Regions from separate parts of the Homo sapiens genome. Here region 1 is linked to region 2. The links are contacts of gene promoters, found by promoter capture Hi-C in blood cells and fetal thymus (Javierre and others, 2016). All regions are on one chromosome and are shown on one strand. The core of a region is centred on a gene start or on the middle of the fragment in contact, and the rest is flanking DNA. Distances in the headings are between cores, read along the strand shown.

The links. The method cuts DNA at HindIII sites, captures the fragments that hold promoters and counts their contacts. A CHiCAGO score of 5 or more calls a contact.
Region 1: the fragment with the promoter of FKBP3 here is called in contact with the fragment with the promoter of EXOC5 in region 2 in 7 of 17 cell types (total B cells, fetal thymus, total CD8 T cells and 4 more); the score reaches 15.7 in total B cells.

The regions. Positions count from the first base shown.
Region 1 is chr14:45,132,216-45,137,532 of GRCh38, forward strand. FKBP3 (FKBP prolyl isomerase 3) reads right to left here and starts at 2,266. Exons shown (of 7, transcript NM_002013.4): 1 at 2,134-2,266. The coding sequence starts at 2,241. FANCM (FA complementation group M) reads left to right here and starts at 3,715. Exons shown (of 23, transcript NM_020937.4): 1 at 3,715-4,324; 2 at 4,854-5,026. The coding sequence starts at 3,817. RefSeq lists enhancers at 1,464-2,335, 2,023-2,242, 2,336-3,206, 3,869-3,918 and a silencer at 2,212-2,389. The HindIII fragment of the contact is 3,907 bases long and covers 957-4,863 here.
Region 2 is chr14:57,265,859-57,271,007 of GRCh38, forward strand. EXOC5 (exocyst complex component 5) reads right to left here and starts at 3,047. Exons shown (of 18, transcript NM_006544.4): 1 at 2,764-3,047. The coding sequence starts at 2,790. It overlaps AP5M1 (adaptor related protein complex 5 subunit mu 1), which reads left to right and starts at 3,113. Exons shown (of 8, transcript NM_018229.4): 1 at 3,113-3,530. The coding sequence starts at 3,457. RefSeq lists a silencer at 2,478-2,537 and enhancers at 2,847-3,430, 3,078-3,277. The HindIII fragment of the contact is 4,317 bases long and covers 229-4,545 here.

The DNA of each region.
Region 1 (5,317 bases), core at 1,016-3,515, about 12 Mb before region 2:
GGGGAAAGGAGACAAAGTTGACTAAACGGAAGTAATCAGTTACCTTTAGCATGCTGGTGGTTTCTTGTTAAAGATTCCAGAAAATACCCAAAGCATAAAAGCATAAACATCTCTTTGATATCTTATGATTAATAAAATAATTATTGTCAAGTATAGGTCTAAGTGTTAATGATCACCGGAGATTATTATTATTAATTTTTGAGACAGAGTCTAGCTCTGTCGCCCAGGCTGGAGTGCAGTGGCCCAATCTCGGCCCACTGCAACCTCCCCCTCTTGGGTTGAAACGATTCTCCTGCCTCAGCCTCCCGAACAGCTGGGATTAGAGGCGCCCACCACCAGGCCCAGCTAATTTTTTTTGTATTTTTAGTAGAAATGAGGTTTCGCTACGTTGGCCAGGCTGGTCCTCAATGCCTGGCCTCAACTGTTAGTCAGGATGGTCTCGATCTCCTGACCTCGTGATCCGCCCGCTTTGGCCTCCGAAAGTGCTAGGATTACAGGAATGAGCCACCACGACCGACCGAGACTATGCATTTAAAAGATTAATGTTATAAAAACATTTTGATAATCCAAGTCTGTTGAAATTCTTCCACGTGGCCCAGTTTTACATACGATTCCACATGGCATGATTTGTTTCATAAGAATATGATGGATGAAGTACATGACTGAGGTATTATTAAATGTTAATGATGTCTATTCTATTGTTTCAGATGAAATACGAATTGGCTTAAGAGAAAATAGTTCCATTAAAATGGGGTAAGATCCCCGACACATGTTCTTTTTCACCCTTGTACCTCCAAACACTGAGAATAGTTCTTGTTACAGATGTTGTATTAATATCTGCTAAATTAATCTAAGATGCGGATGCCAGGATAATAATTAAGGAAGAAGGCACTGGAAGTTGGAGAGTTCTTCTATCTCCCTGTCATGACGCCCGCCCAAAATGAAAATAAAATATAAGCTTCTCAAAATAACCCAGAAATAGTGGCTCACGCCTGTAATCCCAGCACTTTGGGAGGCCGAGGCGGGCGGATCACGAGGTCAGGAGATCGAGACCATCCTGACTAACACGGTGAAATCCCGTCTCTATTAAAAATACAAAAAATTAACCTGGCGTGGTGGCACGCGCCTGTAGTCCTAGCTACTCGAGAGGCAGAGGCAGGAGAATCGTTTGAACCCGGGAGGCGGAGGTTGCAGTGAGCCGAGATCGCGCCACTGCACTCCAGCCTGGGCAACAGAGAGAGACTCCGTCTCAAACAAACAAACAAAAAAACCCAGAAACAGTTTTTCTAAATGAAAAGTTTAGAATTTTAAAAATTGTATAGAAAACACAAGCAGGCTGCCGCTTGTAAGAGAATGCTGCGTGCACAACTATTTCAGCAATTTAACAGGTGCATGAATGAACTTATTTTCCAAAGGAAAAACAAGTGTAACAAAAATAACTTGACTATAGACGGATGGTTAAGATGGAGACTATGCTGACAAATGGAGAGCCTACAGTATAAAGCATTTCAAATAAATTTCTTAGTCTGTTTATAACAATGACAGACCACTGCACAAGAGAAATGTGCATGTAGCTCCCTTAAAGTATAAAGGTGAAAAGGTCATTTAAAGGGTCGATATGTTAAATCAAAACTTAAACCACAACCTACGGATTTTTTAAAAATCACACGCATTAATGTTCAGTATTTAGTAAACTGTTGAGAAAAGCAAGTTGGATACACCGTTCCCACAGAAATCTTCACATCCCTTCCCATTTCCCTAGTAGCCGGCGCCCCGCTCCCAGGAGTCTCATCCACACCACTATTCCTCGGCCTCTCCGCCCTAGCCCCCAATATCCTCGGGTTCCTATTTTTCTGGCCTCCACCCCCACTCAAGGATCCCAATGAGGTTCTAACTCTACAATTGCAGCCTGTGTGCCCCAAGAAATAAAGCTGCTCCCCTGCCCCAGTAGAGAACGCCCGAGAGGCGGGAGCGAGGCACCAAAGCACAAGCTGGGCCTCTCCGGCCTTCCAGGCCACCGGCCGCGGGAAGACGAGGGCGGGGGCACAGAGGAATACGGAATGTATGGGCATCTCCAGGGGGGTGAGGCGTCCCTCAGCCGCACCAGCCCGGCCGCCCCTACGCCTCTGGTACCGAATCTGAACCGTGTTCCTGCAGAAACTTGATAATGTCCTTCTTGGGCAGCTGCTCACTGCGCAGCTGCTCCACGGTCCACGCCCGCTGTGGAACGGCCGCCGCCATCTTCCCCCGCTGCCTCCGCTTTACTGAGCCAGCCCGCCGCAGTTCGGCATCGCCCCGCCCCCTAGGGCGGGGCGGGGCCACTCACGGAGGTCGAGGGGCGGGCCTCTGCTCTAGCAGTCGGGATTGGGGCCTGTCTTTGAGTGACGTCAAGGCTGTGCTATGAGGGCTTCTTTGTTGAGTCCGGGTTGAAAAACCTACCGCGGTCGTCTCTGCAGTCGACTGAGTAGAAGACCGCTAGAGATCTTCGATTCTGAATTAGACACCTTGTGAAGCGACCTCTGATGGTAGCGACATTTATCAACCATTACCCACATTTAAGGCAGCTATGCCTTTAAAGTCCAGTCTATAACCTGTTAAAAGAAAACAGCATTCAGGCTCCTTATCTCGTTTTATCTAGTTCTAGCCTAAAAAGTCACACCTGAAGTGCTTCAGTCCTTGTCGATCCGAAAACCCATATCCCACCATTTCCCTTTTAAAGATCACACAACCGAAACTTAAATACAAACTGCCCATCCCCTTCCCCCCATACAAATACGAGAAAGTTTGTCCAAAACGAAGTTCAGAAACTTTAACAAATAAAACAATTTATAAAGAAGCCGCACTCAGGATGCCACTTGCTGATGAGAATGACATTATTAATGCTCGTAACTCTGTGATGTATATTTTTTTCTCAGTACACGAGGAAACAAATTTACAGAGGTTACTCAAAGTCAGGTTTAGAGAGAAGTCAGGAATTATTTGAGACAGAAATCTTCGTTAGAGTGGAATAATTGCACACCGACGTTTATTATAATGCTCTTACCTATAATAAAGATTTAATAGTTGAACATCAGGACTCCTTACTTAAAAAAATGTAGGCTGACTCTGGGCATGTTGCCTATGAGTTAGCTCTGCTTTGCAAGGAGCATTAAAAAAAAAAATTCTGACGAATAGCTGGACCAGACCACGTTCACTTCCCTTTAAACAATGAAAATATTAAAATAATGGGTTGCCACTCCCAGCGCGGTGAAAAAGAGACTTGGCATTTTGTTTTCTCAGCCCAGATAGAGATATAAGACAAATTATTCCATCTACACATTTTTGCTTTTCACTTTATATTCTGATTTAAAAGTACAAGGAATGAGGCACGTTAGACGCTCAATAACATTAAGTTCCCAAACTGGTGGCTATTCCATTGTCCCCGGGTATGTAATATTTTACAATAAATCTCTATTATAACATTTTAAGTGATTTATCACGTTAGCAATGACGCCCAGCCATCTAATCATTGGAAACGGAACTTAAATTTAGAGTTTGTTAAAACAAAACACCGGAACCGCACCGGGGACCATATTTAGAGTAACGCCTTAATAATGCGCATGAGTCTCCGGCAGGGCTGTGAAGGTTTCCGGGAAGCCAGCCAATCATTCCCAACGGAAACTCAGTAGCGGCATTTTCAACTGGATAAACTGGCCTTAGTCCCGCCTTCTCGTTCCAGAGTTTTGTGCGAAGGAAACCGATGGGGATCGGAACCGTAGCGGTTGAGCTGCTGCTGCTACGGATATCTGACAGAAGCCTTCGGTGGTTGTCGGCCTAATGAGCGGACGGCAAAGAACGCTTTTTCAGACGTGGGGCTCAAGTATCTCCCGATCATCTGGGACTCCGGGTTGCAGCTCCGGAACTGAGCGACCTCAGAGCCCTGGCAGCTCCAAGGCGCCTTTGCCAGCAGCAGCGGAGGCTCAGCTGGAGTCGGACGATGATGTGTTGCTTGTCGCGGCGTACGAGGCTGAGCGGCAGTTGTGTCTAGAGAATGGCGGGTTCTGCACCTCCGCGGGCGCCCTGTGGATTTACCCTACCAATTGCCCAGTGCGGGACTACCAGCTGCACATTTCCCGGGCTGCTCTGTTTTGCAATACGCTGGTGTGTCTGCCTACCGGACTGGGAAAGACCTTTATTGCCGCCGTGGTCATGTACAATTTCTACCGCTGGTTCCCTTCAGGAAAGGTGGTCTTCATGGCCCCAACGAAACCCTTGGTGACACAGCAGATCGAGGCTTGCTACCAGGTGATGGGTATCCCGCAATCCCACATGGCCGAAATGACAGGTATCTTAGACTGGACTAATTTTGAAGTAAGAGCTGGGAATTCCTGACCCATGTGGAATAGTTCCCAAGCTACAACATGTGCATCTTACGCCCTCCCTCTTAAAACATTCTCTACTTGCAGCAAGCCCAAAACTGATGAATAGGGTTGCTTTATTCAATCTTCAGAGAATATCTGCAGCTTGTCATAGTATTTTGAAGCTATTATGTGCGTATACCCCATGGGTAACTGAACATGATATTTCCTGGCATTCTTCCTGAAAAAGATTTCTCAGTTGAAGAATTTGCCTCTCTTCAAATATGCCATTTTGTAGGAATTTTCTAAAGACAATTTGGTTGTAGTCCTAGATAAGTGCCAGCTTTGATATTTGGACCACACCAGAACTTTAAAATGTAGCATTCCGATGAATTGTCAAATTGTTTTTCTCTTAATGTTACCAAAGCATGTTTGCATTCTGAAAAAGCCAGACTATTTATATTTTATAGATAACAGTCTGAAGTTTAGAATGTAGAATGTCACTTTTATTTTCAGGGTCTACACAAGCTTCCACCAGGAAGGAAATATGGTGCAGTAAGAGAGTGCTTTTTCTTACACCTCAGGTCATGGTAAATGACCTTTCTAGAGGAGCTTGTCCCGCTGCTGAAATAAAGTGTTTAGTTATTGATGAAGCTCATAAAGCTCTCGGAAACTATGCTTATTGCCAGGTAATAATTTTGTTAAACGGTATTTTGTATTGTAACTGTACTGTTAAAGAGAATTTTGGCGAATAGTTACTAGTGATGGAAGTTATTGACAATATTATTATAAAAAGCCTTTACGTCTATTATCTCAGAACAGATGGTGATAAAGAATATCTGTACTTTCTGTCATCCATTCAAATCAGTGTCTTCACTGCCTTTTGCTGTTATTGTTGTTTTCTTTTTCTTTTCTTCTATTTTAAGACTAACCAGATAATTAGTGTCAGATGTAGATCATGAGAGCCTAGTCATGGTTGG
Region 2 (5,149 bases), core at 1,797-4,296:
TCAGAAAGATCTGTCAACAAAAGTTGAAACTAAGAAGGTATTCTGAGAAACTTCCAGGATATACACTATTACAATAGCCAAATCATCTATTACTAAATCATTTCGGTCAACTGAGGAAATATATTACAGTTTGATTTTGTTATATGAAGTTGTTTTCATTGAGAGTCATGGGACCAATAAGATTTTAAAAGAAGCAGAGTTAACATAATGAAATGTCATGGATTCAAAAGCTTAATTTTGTTTTCATTTAACTTCTCCTAACATGAAAAGTGAAAGCATAATTCTATTTAACAGTGCATGAAAATCAGGATGCATAAAAACCAAACATCCTTGACTACATCCTGCCTTCCGTTTTCCACAGTTCTCCAGCTGGGACTAAGAAAGGGAAGCAGGAGAAAAAGATACTTCCCGTGACTCTTACTACAACCTAGATGCTATGGCAGTAGTTACAGGAAACTGAGCAGTGACAGGATTTTTTTTCCTCCTCCCTCCAAGGCCAAGAGATCAACTTTTCACTTGGGGATGAAAACTTACTCAAGAGTAGAGTCCACTGTAGGGCTGGATTCATAGCAGTACCAGAAAAGATAAATGCACTTCTTAATTATAACTATTGAAACTTAATTGTAACTATTATGCTTTTAATTATGATGAAGCAACAAGCTACATATAGTCAAGAAAAAAAGTCACGTCAGTTTTAAGATCTATAAATACGTTTAAATTTGTCCTAAAAACCCTCTGGCCTAAGGGTAGTCTAAGGGCTACTGTCTCTATTATCACAGAATCTTACTGGCTACCATGTAACTAGAGTCACTAAATTACATTATATATATGTATGTTATATATACGTTATATATATATATGTGTATGTGTGTGTGTGTATATATATATATATATAAAACGTATATATATACTACTTAACCTAATAGCAGGACCCCAGAAAGCAAAATATATATTTCCCCACCTCCTCCCCTTCCCCGCTAGGGAGAGGGGAAAAAAAAAAATCAAACATATTTCCAAATAAGTTACTGAAATCATGTGGTCAAACATTTAAATAAAAATATACATAAGATGGTCCAAGGTACAACTGGAACTGTCAAGCAGGATTAACTCAAAGGATAATGTCTTATGAACTGTATGACAACATATATAACAGTTTTCAGTTAAGAGCTGGCTTGCCGGCAAATACCTTAATTAAAGATCTCATACAACTTCATCGTTTTCTCCCTTTTTAAGATGTGAAAAATAAAACAAGGAACCACAGCACTACTTAGTACCTAGGGACACAGTAAAAGTTCCTAGCAGGAAAAATGTCTCCCCGTTCTTGTGTCAATAAACAGATGGCACAATTTTGGAATTACAGAAATTAATGTAGCATATCTCCCAACACTTAAGTGAGAAAATACAATATCTCTGAAGTCTTTCTTGTAATTACAATCCTTCATTCACAAATTACTGTCTTATTACAACTTATTATAACAATAACATATATTACTCCTCTCAAAAAAAGCATTATCTATCCAAAAGCTGACTGATATGCAAAATATAGTAACAATAACAAATGTAAATTTCCATTTGTTATTAAAACTGTGGCATTCAAATTGTAAGCCACAAAAACTGCTGAATCTTACGCAGAAAAAGGATACCATTTTCACTTATGGAGAAGTTCCCTATTGTGGATTACAGTCTTCTCAATTATTACACTTTTGTTACTCAATGTGAAACACAAGCACACACACAAAAAAGGGGTCTTTCTTTCCTTTTTCTTATCCGTTTTCATTTCTTTCACACAAGGAGATGCTTTATACGTGTCATTGTTTTGTAGCCTAATTAGAGTTTTCCTATTCTATTATCTCAAACTTTTATCACAGCTTCTTACAACGGACTTCACGAAATTAAATTTTAAGGTTTAGATACTGTAAACGCTCGAGGAAAGACATTAGTATTCTCACTATTACATATTAAGGATTCTCTAGCTTGCAGTTAGGTGATTTTATAATACATGTAAATGCATATAATACACTTAAGGTGCATTATATACATGAAACGAAGTGTTCGTTTTATTTTATAAACTTTTTTTATTTTATAATACACGTAAATGCCTCGAGTGTATTATTATGTATTACATGAAATAAAGTGTTCACTTGAATTTTGCCTCCCTTCAGTCTATCTCTCTTCAGTCGAAAGAGATAAGTAGGCCTTTATTGTCCAAAAAAAAAAAAATTGTCCCAGCCTTTTCAAATGTCAGGTTAAACTGGCAGTCCTATGAATGCCACCTGCAACCTTACTAATGGAATAATTACTCAAAACGAGAAGCCCCCAAGAGTCCCGATCTCAAGTGGCTTCCTCCTATTATTCCCGCGAGGACCCCAGCGACAAGACTCGCCCAACCTGAGGCTCCTGGCTCTCTTTCCTCGTCCTGAGTCAGCCCTTCCCACTACTCATCCGGAGTAGACATCTTCCAACACCCGAACCTTCCAGACTTTCCCTCTTGCCCCCACAAACAAAAGCAACCCTCCTCCCTTGGGACACCCGGCTTCCCCTCTCTGCCGACCGGCCGCCCAGCCCACCTCGGCCCCAAGCACCCCTCCCCCATTTCACGCTCCGCCCGCGCTGACACGGAGCTGCCACCCCAACCCTTCTGTTTCGCACCTCTCTCCCGAGGGCTCCTCCTGGGCAGCCAGCAAACGCCCGCTCCTCGGCCCGCCCACCCAGCTGCCTGCAAACCCCGGGCCTGCCACTCCCTGTAGAGCCGCCGGGGCCCACCTCGAAGAGCTCGGCCGTGGTAGCCATCCCGGCCGGCTGAGAGGCTCGCCCCCCACTGGATGCCGTCTCCGCTTCACATGCTGCGCCTCAGAGGCGCGGCGCACAGGTCTCCGCTCGGCTCGCCAGCTCCGGCTCCGGGCCGCTGCGGGCTCCCCAGCTCCCCACAGATCCCAGGAGGGGCGGGAGAGCGGCCATGAAGCGAAGCCGCAAACGCTTGTCAGCTGCCTCCCGGCGCCGCCCGCGCTGCTCCCATTGTCACCGCCTCATACGCCGGAAGTGGAACTGCGCGCGCCAGGGAGGTTGTCGGGAGGGGCCGGCGAATAAAACGAGCGGCGAAAGAACCGAAAAAAGGCTCGACGCTACCGTGTATGAGGAACTTTGATCCTTGCGGGCCACCATTCCGGAAGTAGAATTTAGAGGAAGAAAATACCGGAGTTGCAGGGTATAGGTAAATTTCTCAAGGTTATAGGTTGGGGTTCTTAGAACTTTTTGTGGTGTGTGTTGGCCTAGAGCGACTCAGAAGCGTTAGTGACTTCACCTAAAAAAGCTAACCTCTCTGCTGAGCGCGACCGGTATGCGGCGCAGGATGAGCCTCAGGGCTTCTGTTAAGAGTCTGTCTGAGAAAGCCGGTCTGCGCTGTTCCTCGGTGGCGACCTTAATTATGAGATGAGCTAATGCTTTACTGACTTAACCATGGCGCAGCGGGCAGTGTGGCTCATAAGCCACGAACCGGGAACTCCACTTTGTGGCACCGTGAGATTCTCCAGGTAAATGCAAATCTGAATCCTCAGGGATGATGGATCAGAAGATCGATGAAGTAGCATAGTTTTGTGGTGCTTCGTGGCCCAGGTTTGCCACGAATAGCTGCGTGACCTTGGGCTAGCCAGTTAACAGACCTCTGTTTCGTCTGTTAAATGGAGATTTTAATAGTCCTACCTTACAGTGTTGTGAGAATTGAGTTGATGACTGGTACATATTATTTACGGTATATGTTTTCTATTAGTATTGTGTTTTAAAATGACCTCCGTCTGCTTAGAATTAAAATGGAGATGACTAAGGGAACGGTAGAAAATTTACTGAGCACTAAACATTTTCAGATTTTTCAACATGCATTGACAAAATCGTTCCAGAACATTTTAACTTATTCTACTGAAAAATCCATGCTAAGTTATATCAGACTTTTATTTTTTTGTTTTTATTTTTTTGAGACGGAGTCTCGCTCTGTTCCCCAGGCTAGAGTGCAGTGGTGCGATCTCCGCTCACTGCAAGCTCCGCCTCCCGGGTTCATGCCGTTCTCCTGCCTCAGCCTCCCGAGTAGCTGGGACTACAGGCACCCGCCACCACGCCCGGCTAATTTTTTGTATTTTTGGTAGAGAGGGGGTTTCACCGTGTTAGCCAGGATAGTCTTGATCTCCTGACCTCGTGATCCGCCCGCCTTGGCTCTCAAAGTGCTGGGATTACAGGCAGGAGCCACCGCGCCCCGCCCAGGCTTTTATTTTTATCTTGTTAATATGTGTCAATGGTAGAAATCATCAGTTTACAGTTCCTAATTGTTGAAGAAAATAGAAACACAAAAAAATGTATTCACTATTTCATATATTGTGTTAAGTTGATCTGGTCCCACTATTAGAATTTGCCCTGTGTAATCAAAATAGCTCTGTTAAGGGAATTGTACAGTAACTCATTGTAAAATGTTGGTGGCAATCGAGTGGGTCTATTTCACCTTTTATTCTCTGGCCATTGATAGTTCTTTTTTGTCACAATTCGTTCTTCCCTGAAGAAAGCTTATAGTGAAGTAGTACCATAGTAGAATTGAGATTGAGGCAGAAAAAAAAGATTTTAATTTTAAATGAAAATTGGTTGGCAATGGGGATATGAAAAATTCCTTCTTTGCAACCTTAACAGTTTTTGTTCCTGAGGGCATCAGAGTTGGAGTTTACCATTTCCCCCCAGGATTTCTGGCTGACACTAACCCCAACATTTGTTGTTGGACCTCAAATACAGGAGATTAATAATATTCTTTAGTACGTGGTTTTACCAGGCGCATCAGTCCGTACAAAGTATCTCTCATTTTACTTATATTCCCTTTGGTTACCTATTTCTAACTGCCGTTCCCTTCCCACTGACAGATAACTCTTAACATCTTCGATGTTACTCTTTTTCATTGTATGCATTTTTCAAATTACATAATTAAGTGTGCTTTAGACTTCACTTCCTAATGTTACATTTGTCACATTTCTCAACACTATTTTAAAGAAACATCCATGATACTTTGTGTTCATCTAAGGCAGCATGTCCAATAGAATTCTCTATGATGATGGAAAGGAGAAATGTTCTTAATCTGTACTGGCTAATACTGTAGCCACTAGCCACAAGTACCTATTGA